Regions from separate parts of the Homo sapiens genome. Here all the other regions are linked to region 3. Evidence: promoter capture Hi-C in 16 types of primary human blood cells and fetal thymus (Javierre and others, 2016). All regions are on one chromosome and are shown on one strand. The core of a region is centred on a gene start or on the middle of the fragment in contact, and the rest is flanking DNA. Distances in the headings are between cores, read along the strand shown.

Region 1 (2,985 bases), core at 354-2,853, 120 kb after region 3:
ATGTGTACATATATTAAAACATCATGTTATTTGCAGCATTAAAAAAAGTTCTAGCGGGGAGGGGGGAGGGATAGCATTAGGAGATATACCTAATGCTAAATGACGAGTTAATGGGTGCAGCACACCAGCATGGCACATGTATACATATGTAACAAACCTGCACATTGTGCACATGTACCCTAAAACTTAAAGTATAATAATAATTAAAAAAAAAAAGTTCGAGAGGTTTTGGTCCTGGCCAACTGCCTGAAGACTGAGACTTTTTTTTTTTTTTTTTTTTTTTTTTTTTTGAGATGGAGTCTTGCTCTGTCGCCCAGGCTGGAGTACAGTGGCGTGATCTCGGCTCACTGCAAGCTCCGCTTCCTGGGTTCATGCCATTCTCCTGCCTCAGCCTCCCGAGTAGCTGGGACTACAGGTGCCCACCACCACGCCCGGCTAATTTTTTTGTATTTTTAGTAGAGTCGGGGTTTCACCATGTTAGCCAGGATGGTCTCGATCTCCTGACCTCGTGATCCACCCGCCTCAGCCTCCCAAAGTGCTGAGATTACAGGCGTGAGCCACCACGCCCGGCCTAAGACTGAGGCTTTTTACCGGGATGAGGAAAAGTACTTTTGATGGGAAATCAACAAGCTTTGAAATTCTTAACTTTGAGATGCACGTTGGTCATCAAATAAGTGGTTGGAGTTAGGGGAAAAAGCCGGGGTTTGTAGATAAAGACTTTCTGACTTTGCGTCACAGAATTTAGTTTAATTAATTAATTTATTTTGAGACAAAGTCTTGCACTGTCACCCAGGCTGGAATGCAATGGCACGATCTTGGCTCCCTGCAACCTCCACCTCCCGAGCTCAAGCAATCCTCCTGCCTCAGCCTCCCAAGTAGCTGGGACCACATATGCTCTAGCACACCCGGCTAATTTTTTAGAGATGAGGGTTCACTATGCTGCCTAGGCTGGTCTCGAACCCCTGGGTTCAAGCAATCCACCCCATCAGCCTCCCAAAGGCTGGGATTACAGTCACTACAGAGTTTTAAAAATACACACAAAGATGTTATGGTATGAAGAGACTCCCACGTACCCATCGCCCAATATTGACAGACATCTGCATTTTTCTTGTCTTATGTCTTCTATTTTTCCCTCCCACATATAAGCATACTTCCCGCCACCCCCTGGAGTTTTGTTTGTTTTAAGAAAATCACAGATAACCTGTCATTTTGTTAATAACTATACAAGTATGCTAAATTTTGGAGCTGCCTATTTATAGATGATATTTAAAGCTATGATTTGCTGAGATCATCTAGGCTGAGAGGTTGAAGAGAGCAGGGACTAGGCCTGAGCATCCCGCATGTAGAAGCCAGGATCCTGGAGAGGGGCTGAGATGGAGCCAGGAGTGTCAGGAGAGGGGATGACCTGGCGCCATGGGATCAAAGGGTTCCAAAGAGAAGATAATGGACTAAGGAGCAGAGACACGGGGCAGCAGCTGGAGGCAGATGTGGGGTCCACCATGGAAAAGACATGACTTTTGATCCCCCATCTAACTGTGTTATGGAACCTTCTCAGTATCTATCAGGAAAAATGTATAAGTACTTATTTTTCTTTATTTTTATTTATTTTCTTTTTGGGTGACATATAACTTAAGTGTGGTAAAGTATATAAAGGGCACAGATCTTAAGTGTACCAGGTAATGAATTTTCACAAATTTATGCATCCATGTAACCGCTAATCAGAGAACATTTCCAGCACCCAGACGTCTTCCTTGTGCTCTTTCCCTGTCAATTCCCCTGCTCCAGAAGCAACCACCCATCTAATGCCTTTCAAAAACAGGCACAGAGATTCGTTGTGTCTGTTTTTGAACTTCATGCGAATGAAATCTTACAGCATGTCTTCCGTGTGTCTGGCATCTTTAGCTCTTTATGTCTGGCAAAGTCTTTTATGTCATTCTATGTAGCAGGAGTTTAGAACCAACTTTATGGCCGGGCTTGGTGGCTCACATCTGTAATCCCAGCACTTTGGGAGGCGGAGGCAGAGGCAGGCAGAACACGTGAGGCTAGGAGTTCGAGACCAGCCTGGCCAACATAATGAAACCCCATCTCTACTAAAAATACAAAAAATTAGCTGGGCGTGGTGGAGGTGCATACCTGTAATCCCAGCTACACTCGGGAGGCCGAGGCACGAGAATTGCTTGAAGCTGAGAGGCAGAGGTTGCAGTGAGCCGAGATCACGCCACTGCACTCCAGCCTAGGTGACAGAGCGACAGATATTTTGCAGTTTGGTGAATAGTGAACTTTAAGGAAAATGGAGAATCTAAAATGCTTCTGAAAGTTCCAGTGGGATGTTTATAAGATGGGAGAAATTATAGCATGTTTGTGTGCAGATGGGAATGATAGAGGGAAAAGAGACCAGGAGACTTTGGAGCTGTTTTTTGAGGAGGTGTGGACAGGGTGAGGGGGCTAGACTTGACTTGAAGAAGGGCCAGCTCATCCTGGAAAAAGAAAGGAAAGTTTTATCATTTGACACCCCCTCCAAATTATAAAAAGCACTCTCCTGGTTTGTATATGTTAGCAGCTATTCCACACAACATAAAAGCTTAAAGCATGCCTTTGGACTGCCAGTCTGGTGTTGATGATGATGATACAGCTTCCTTTATGGACCATAATAAATAGCTGGGCTGGGCATGGTGGCTCCTGCCTGTAATCCCAGCACTTTGGGAGGCCAAGGTGGGAGGATCTCTTGAGCCCAGGAGTTTGAGACCAGCCTGGGCAACATAGTGAGACCCCCGTCTCTACAACAAAGAACTGAATAAATGTTAGTGATGTTTATTTTTATTCTGAGTGGATGGGGCAAGAAGGAGGGGAGAGCAGCAGGCAGTTTGGGAAGGAAGAGGAGCCTAGTGGCCTGAGCAGCCAGGACAGGGAGGAGAAGGGGAGGCCAGAAGACGGGGAGAGACTGAGCTTGCAGAGTCCCCCGGGTGAGGCTTGTGGGCATACTGA
Region 2 (3,419 bases), core at 172-2,671, 86 kb after region 3:
TATCAATTAAGGGTCAAAAGCAGAGGAGGCCAAGTGCATAGGATGGCCTGTGACTATTTCCAAAGGTGAAAGTTTATGAGCCCCAAAGAGAGTGGCCCTTAGATTTAATAATACCAAAGGAGGAACTTAGGTCAAGGAAGGTGTAGATAAATTCTGCCAACTGGGTTTTTTGTTTTTTTGTTTTGAAATGGAGTCTCACTCTATCACCTAGGCTGGAGTGCAGCGGCTTGATCTCAGCTCACTGCAACCTCTGTCCCCTGGGTTTGAGCAATTCTCCTGCCTCAGCCTCCCAAGTAGCTGGGATTATAGGCGTGTACCACCACACCTGGCTAATTTTTGTATTTTTAATAGGGATGGGGTTTCACCATGTTGGCCAGGCTGGTCTTGAACTCCTGATCTCAAGTGATCTGCCTGCCTCAGCCTTCCAAAGTGCTGGGGTTACAGGGGTGAGCTACTGTGCCCGGCCATCCAACTGGGTTTTTATAGTTCCCCTTGTTTGTTCCACTGAGCCAGAAGATTGGGGATTGTAGACAGTGGAAATGCTGAGAAATTGGCCAAACTGAACTCACTTGTTTTATTATATGGCCAGTAAAATGGGCTCCTGATCACGATGTACTTCAAGGGGAGTTCCCTAGGTGGGAATACTTTTTTTCCAGGAGAATTTTGGCCACAGCTGAAGCAGTGGCTTGTCTACCAGGAAAGCCTCTACCCAATAGGAGAATGTGCAAACTGTTACTAGTACATATATATATATATATATATATATACACACACACACACACACACACACACACACACACACACGGAAGTGGGTAGTTGGATAAAATCCATTTGCCAAACCTTGAAGGGCCCATTAGGTAGATTAAAATGTCCAGGATCGGGATGTACACATTTTCCTGAGTTAAACTTACGGCAGGTGGCACAAGTGCCAAATAGGCTTTTTTTTTTTTTTTTGGCAGCTTTTTTTTTTTTTTTTTTTTTTTTTTTTGAGAGAGGGTCTCATTCTGTCACTCAGACTGGAGTGCAATGGCACGATCTCCACTCACTGCAGCCTTGATCTCCTAGGCTCAGGTGACTCTCCCACCTCAGCCTCCCCAGTAGTTGAAACTACTTATTTTGATATTTTTAGTAGAGACACGATTTCCCTATGTTGCCCAGGCTGGTCTCGAACTCCTGGACTCAAGCAATCCGCCCCCTTCGGCCTCCCAGAGTGCTGGGATTACAGGCCCGAGAGCCACTGCACTTGGCCAGTACAGCTTCTTTTAATGTCACTCCCCCTAATATTGTTTCATAAAACAATTTGTAAGTTCCCCAGTGGGTCAGATTATGTACTGTAGTTAAGAATATTGACTTGGAGAGAACTGGTTATCAGGCCTTAAACACAGCTTTTTTTTTTTTTTTTTTTTTTTTTTCAAATCATTGAACTAGCAGTGTGATCTTTCCAATTTTGTTCTTCCGTTTCTGGTGCCCAATTTTGTGCATCTTTGGTAATCATTTTTAGATCACCTTTTGGTGGCTCTTTTAGCTGGGCCTCAAGAGAGATTTGAGGAACCGAACCTTTAACAGCAGCATCCTTTGCGGCATTATCAGCCAAGACTGTTTCCTCTAGCTTCCGCAGAGGTTAACCTTGAATGTCCGGGAGTTTCCATAATAGCCAAGGCAGCTGGCAGCTGGATGGCATCCAGTAAGTCCCGTACATAGGATCCATTTTTAATTTGACCTCCAGTGGACGTGAGTAAACCCCTTCATTTCCATAGCAGTCCAAAATCAGGAGCAACCCCAAAGGCATATCTACTATCTGTATAGAGTAACAGATTGCCCTTTCACGAGGAGGCCAGCAAGGGCAGTGAGTTTAGCTTTTCGTGCAAAAGTAGCCACAGGGGCCAGGCGCAGCAGCTCACACCTGTAATCCCAGCACTTTGGGAGGCCGAGGTAGGCAGATTACTTGAGGTCAGGAGTTCAGGAAGACTGGCCAACATGACGAAACCCTGTCTCTACTAAAAATACAAAAAAATTAGCTGGGCATGGTGGTGGGTGCCTGTAATCCCAGCTACTCGGGAGGCTGAGGCAGGAAAATTGCTTGAATCCAGTGGGCAGAGGTTGCAGTGAGCTGAGATTGCGCCACTGTACTCCAGCTTGGGCAACAGAGCAAGACTCCATCTCAAAAGAAAAAAAAAAAAGTAGCCACAGGTAAGGGGCGGCTTCAGCAACTTCGAAGGAAGTGGTAACTACATATCTTACACAGTTTTTACCATTGTCATCTTTCAGATACGATCCATCTATATCCATAGTTCAGCCAGTTCAGCATTATCTAGCGGAAATTCTTGTAAACATTTTTTAGGGAATCAAAAGATAGTGTCAAACAGTCATGGAGAGCTGTGTGCAGTGGCTCACACCTGTAATCCCAGCACTTTGGGAGGCCAAGGTGGGTGGATCACCTGAGGTCAAGAGTTCGAGACCAGCATGGCCAACATATAGTGAAACCCCATCTCTATTAAAAATACAAAAAATTAGCCAGGGGTGGTGGCGGGCACCTGTAATCCCAGCTACTCGGGAGACTGAGGCTGGAGAATCACTTGAACCCGGGAGGCCAGAGGTTGCAGTGAGCCGAGATTGCGCCACTGCACTCCAGCCTGGGCAACAGAGCTAGACTCCGTCTCAAAAAAAAAAAAAAAACAACCTGTGGGCCTATGCCTGTATTCCCTTAGGCTTTCCCATGGTGGTTGTGGATTGGCTATTTTAAAGAAAACACGCTTGAAGGGGGAACTTATTTACATCGCTCTGATGTTGACCATCCCATAGGGCCATGGTCAGCCACTGTAGGATGTTGTTGGATTTTGGATTGGTGAGATGAGGAACAAGTGGGCTAAACTGCAAGCCACAAGGGGAAGGGGAAGTTTTACTAGGCCAAGGTGATGAGGTTTCGTTGAGTTTCAAACAATGTATGTCAGGCCTAAAAGTGGATGCCAAGGCAGCAAGTATATTGTAACACATTTATGACAGGCATGCAGAGGGATTGGAGAATGGGTAACTCAGGGTGAAAATACTCCCTCCCCTGTTCTGCTAAGGGTCACCACGTTCTGAAGCTGGAGAACTAGGGGTCAGGCAACCCATGGCAAGTACAGCCCAGCCAGCCCTCAGCCAGTTCAAGATACTGATGCTGTCGTGAGAGGCAGCCAGGGCTCTGACGGAGGCCCGCAAGATGGGGAATCTGCCAGCAGTTGCTGCCAAGTTGCAGGCCACACTTTGTTCACGGGAGAATGCAGGCTGCACGCTGGCACTACCAAGGGCACAGGCTCAGGCAAGTTGACCTGTCAATATCATGAGAGGCTACGAAATAAAGACCCTAACTCAGCCTGCATGGCTGTGATAGAAATGGCTGTGGACCCTACACCCTACCCGCACCCACGGTCATCATC
Region 3 (3,178 bases), core at 375-2,874:
TGTAACCGCACTCAACTTGCCAGAAACCCCTTCACGGTCTGAGCTGGCGTTCCCTTTCATGTCACTGAGTTCAACATCCTCACTTTACAGAAAGAGAAACAGAAGCCTGGAGAGAGGAAGGTGTTTACCATTGGCTGCGATGGCAAATGGCAAGAGCCAAGATTTAAGCCCAGGCCGCCAGCCCCATGCCACCTGGTTATAACTCCTCTCACCAATCTCTGCCGAACACCCAGCCCTCCTGCTTCTGCCTAGCCACCTTCCAATCCTCTGTTCCTTCCAAAAGTGGCCTTATCCACCAGGGAGGGGTGACCCGTGGCAGGTTCAAGACTTACACAGTGTGAGAGTGTGTGTGGGTGACATTTCCTGACCTTGTCCCCATTCTCAGGGTCACCCAACCTCGGGGGTCTCCAGCTTCTCACAGTGTGTGATGAGGGTATGTGGATGGCTCCCTGGATGTCCTGGACAGGGGCTTCTCTGTGAGTCAAGCCTGGGTGTGTGAATGGGTGAGCAGGGTTTGGAGAGGCATTCGCTGAATCCACGTGTGTGCCTACACGCCAAGGTCCCCCATTCTCACTTCCCCACACACATGCACACAGATGTTCCCCTCCAGGGCTCTTTAGAATGCCCTGCCTGACTGAATTCCTCTTCAGGGGCACAGAGGGATAGAGAGAGGGAGGAAGGTAGGATGGGAATGGGAGATCCCGGGATGGAGGCTGTAAGCGTAGAGAGAGGAGGCACAGCAGAAAGACAGGGATGGAGATAGTGGGACAGAGAAGGGGGAAAGAGACAGGTGACAGAAAGGGTTAGAGAAACGAGTGACAGAAAGACAGGGGACAGAGACAAGGGGATGGGGCAGATAGGGGACAGAGAAAAAGGGACAGAAAAACAAGGGTGACAGCGAGACAGAGACAGGGACCAAGAATAGGGGCAGAGAGGGAGGGCAGAAATCCGGGGGAAAGAGAATAGACAGGATGATGGAGGGGACAGAGTGACCCAGGAAAAGGGGACAGAGACCAGGGGACAGAGGTAGGGGACAAAGACAGAATAGATGAGGAACACCGAGGCAAGAAGAGAGGGAGACAGACAGAAGGAGGGACAGGACTTCGAGACTGAGGGATAGAGGACAAGGGTAGGGGGACGAGGAGCCAGACGGGGGGGTTCAGAGACGGGCGGACAGAGGGACGCAGAGACTGGACAGAAGGACAGCGGGACCGGCCTGGGGAGGGCGGACTTGTGTGTGTAGGGGGGTCTCGGGCCCTTTGTCCCCGCCGGGATCCAGCCTGCGCGGGTGGGGGGGCTGCGGCACGGCGGCCGGGCCCCGCGCCCCCTCCCCCGCTCGTCGCTCCCGGCTCCCGGCCCGCGCTGCGCTTTGTCCCGGGGAGGGGGCCCGGCCCGGCCCCGCGCGCATTGTTCGGCCTCTGCGGCCCCGAGGCTGCCGGGCTGTCACCACAGCGCGCCCCCCGCCCCAGCCCGGCCGGCCGACCCCGGCCCCCGACCCTACCTGGCCCCGCCGCGGCCGCCCACAGCAGCAGCAGCGGCCACTGGAAGCGCCGGGCCCGGCCCATGGTGCCGCCGCCGCCGCCGCCGCCGCTCGCTCCCGGCCCGGCACCTGCACCGCCCGCGCCGCCCGCCCCGCCCCCCGCGCCCCGCCCCCTGCCCGCCCGGGGGCGGGGCGCCGAGGCCGGGGCGGGGCCGGGGAGGGGAGGGGGAGACGGAGGAGAGGCCCGGAGACAATCGGGGGGACGGCACGGTGGGGGAACGGTGCGGGGTGCGAAAGCTGGAGAGGAGAGGGGTGAGGAGGGCGGGAAGGGGTGCGCGGGAGGGCGACAGCGGCGTGGGAGCAGGTGGGGGATCTCGGTGAGCGCGGGAAATGGAGGGTGTTGGGTGAGGGTGCTGCGTGCGGGCCCAGGTGCTGCGCGCGAGGGTGCGGAGTTGCTGGCATGCAGGGTGCTTGCGCTGCGCGGAGGGGAGGGTGGCAGGGTGTTGCTGGAGGCTGTGCGAGGGTGGGGGCGCGGGCGTCGTGGGGTGCGGTGTGTGCGAAGGGAGAGCGTGGCCAGCGTGACGGGGGAGCGTAAGGGAGGGAGTGCGACGTGGGAAAGGTGAGTGTGAGAGGCGTGCTGCGGGCAGGTGGGTGTCTGGAGTCTAGCGAGAGGCTGTGAGCTGAGCCACCGGGACAGGGGAGGCTGCAGCTGGAGGTCCGGAGGGTCCGGAGGTCGAGGCAGGTCAAGGATCTCCCAGGGCAGGGCGAGGCTGGGGCTCAGGAGTGGGGTGGGGTCAGTTCCCTCCCTCCCTCTCTCCTGTCCTGACCTGAAAACCCCGTGTTTCCGCGTCATTCTCCGGGAGGGGCCCCCTGAAAGTGAACTAACTGGAAGGAAGCCTGAATCCTGGGTCCCAGGAGGGAGAGGCTCCTGTGAACACCTTCCAAGCCCTGGCGTCCCCTCTCCTCCCTGCTGTCTCCCTGCCCCAGCCTCTCTCCCTCTCTCTGCATGTATTTGCCTCTGCCCTTCCTCTCTCCCCATCTTTGAGGGTGACTCACCCCTCCAGACTTAGGTCCCTTCTCCCTCCTGGGAGTGGGTTTCCCTGAGCCCACTTCTGTGACACCCTGTAGACCTGATGCGGGATCATTACCTATGGGACCCAGAAAGAGTGAGAAACCATGGAAAGAAGGCCTCGACCTCTCTCATGCCCATTTGTCAGGCAAACTGAGGTCCAGAAGTGCCAATTATGAACATCTTTCCTTCCCCCCTCCCCCCTCCCCGCCCAGACGGAGTCTCGCTCTGTTGCCCAGGCTGGAGTGCAGTGGCACGATCTCGACTCACTGCAACCTCTGCCTCCCAGGTTCCAGTGATTCTCCTGCCTCAGCCTCCCGAGTAGCTGAGATTACAGGCGCCCGCCACCATGCCTAGCTAATTTTTATATTTTTAGTAGAGACGGAGTTTTGCCATGCTGGCCAGGCTGGTCTTGAACTCCTTACCTCAGGTGATCCATCTGTCTGGCCTCCCAAAGTGCTGGATTACAGGCGTGAGCCACCATGCCTGGCTGAAAATCCTTACTTTTTATTCCGACTAAAAAATTTTACATCCAGTCCCACAAGGGACTTCAGCTTCACACACCCTTTCTGTCCTCAGTACCCAGCTCCCAGTATCCTTTCTGACCTCAAAACCATAGCTACCATCAA

Evidence for each region. Contacts are between HindIII fragments. The CHiCAGO score rates a contact against its expected background, and 5 or more counts as called.
Region 1: a fragment that was not itself captured here is called in contact with the fragment with the promoter of CADM4 in region 3 in 1 of 17 cell types (monocytes); the score reaches 5.1 in monocytes.
Region 2: a fragment that was not itself captured here is called in contact with the fragment with the promoter of CADM4 in region 3 in 3 of 17 cell types (neutrophils, monocytes and total CD4 T cells); the score reaches 7.0 in neutrophils.

What each region holds. Positions count from the first base shown.
Region 1 is chr19:43,760,003-43,762,987 of GRCh38, forward strand. No RefSeq gene overlaps it. Among named protein-coding and RNA genes, the nearest start is that of SMG9, 6.5 kb to the left of the region's middle. The HindIII fragment of the contact is 1,951 bases long and covers 629-2,579 here.
Region 2 is chr19:43,724,065-43,727,483 of GRCh38, forward strand. No RefSeq gene overlaps it. Among named protein-coding and RNA genes, the nearest start is that of IRGC, 9.7 kb to the left of the region's middle. The HindIII fragment of the contact is 6,289 bases long and covers 1-3,419 here.
Region 3 is chr19:43,638,226-43,641,403 of GRCh38, forward strand. It overlaps CADM4 (cell adhesion molecule 4), which reads right to left and starts at 1,625. Exons shown (of 9, transcript NM_145296.2): 1 at 1,502-1,625. The coding sequence starts at 1,565. RefSeq lists a silencer at 1,509-1,648. The HindIII fragment of the contact is 9,580 bases long and covers 1-3,178 here.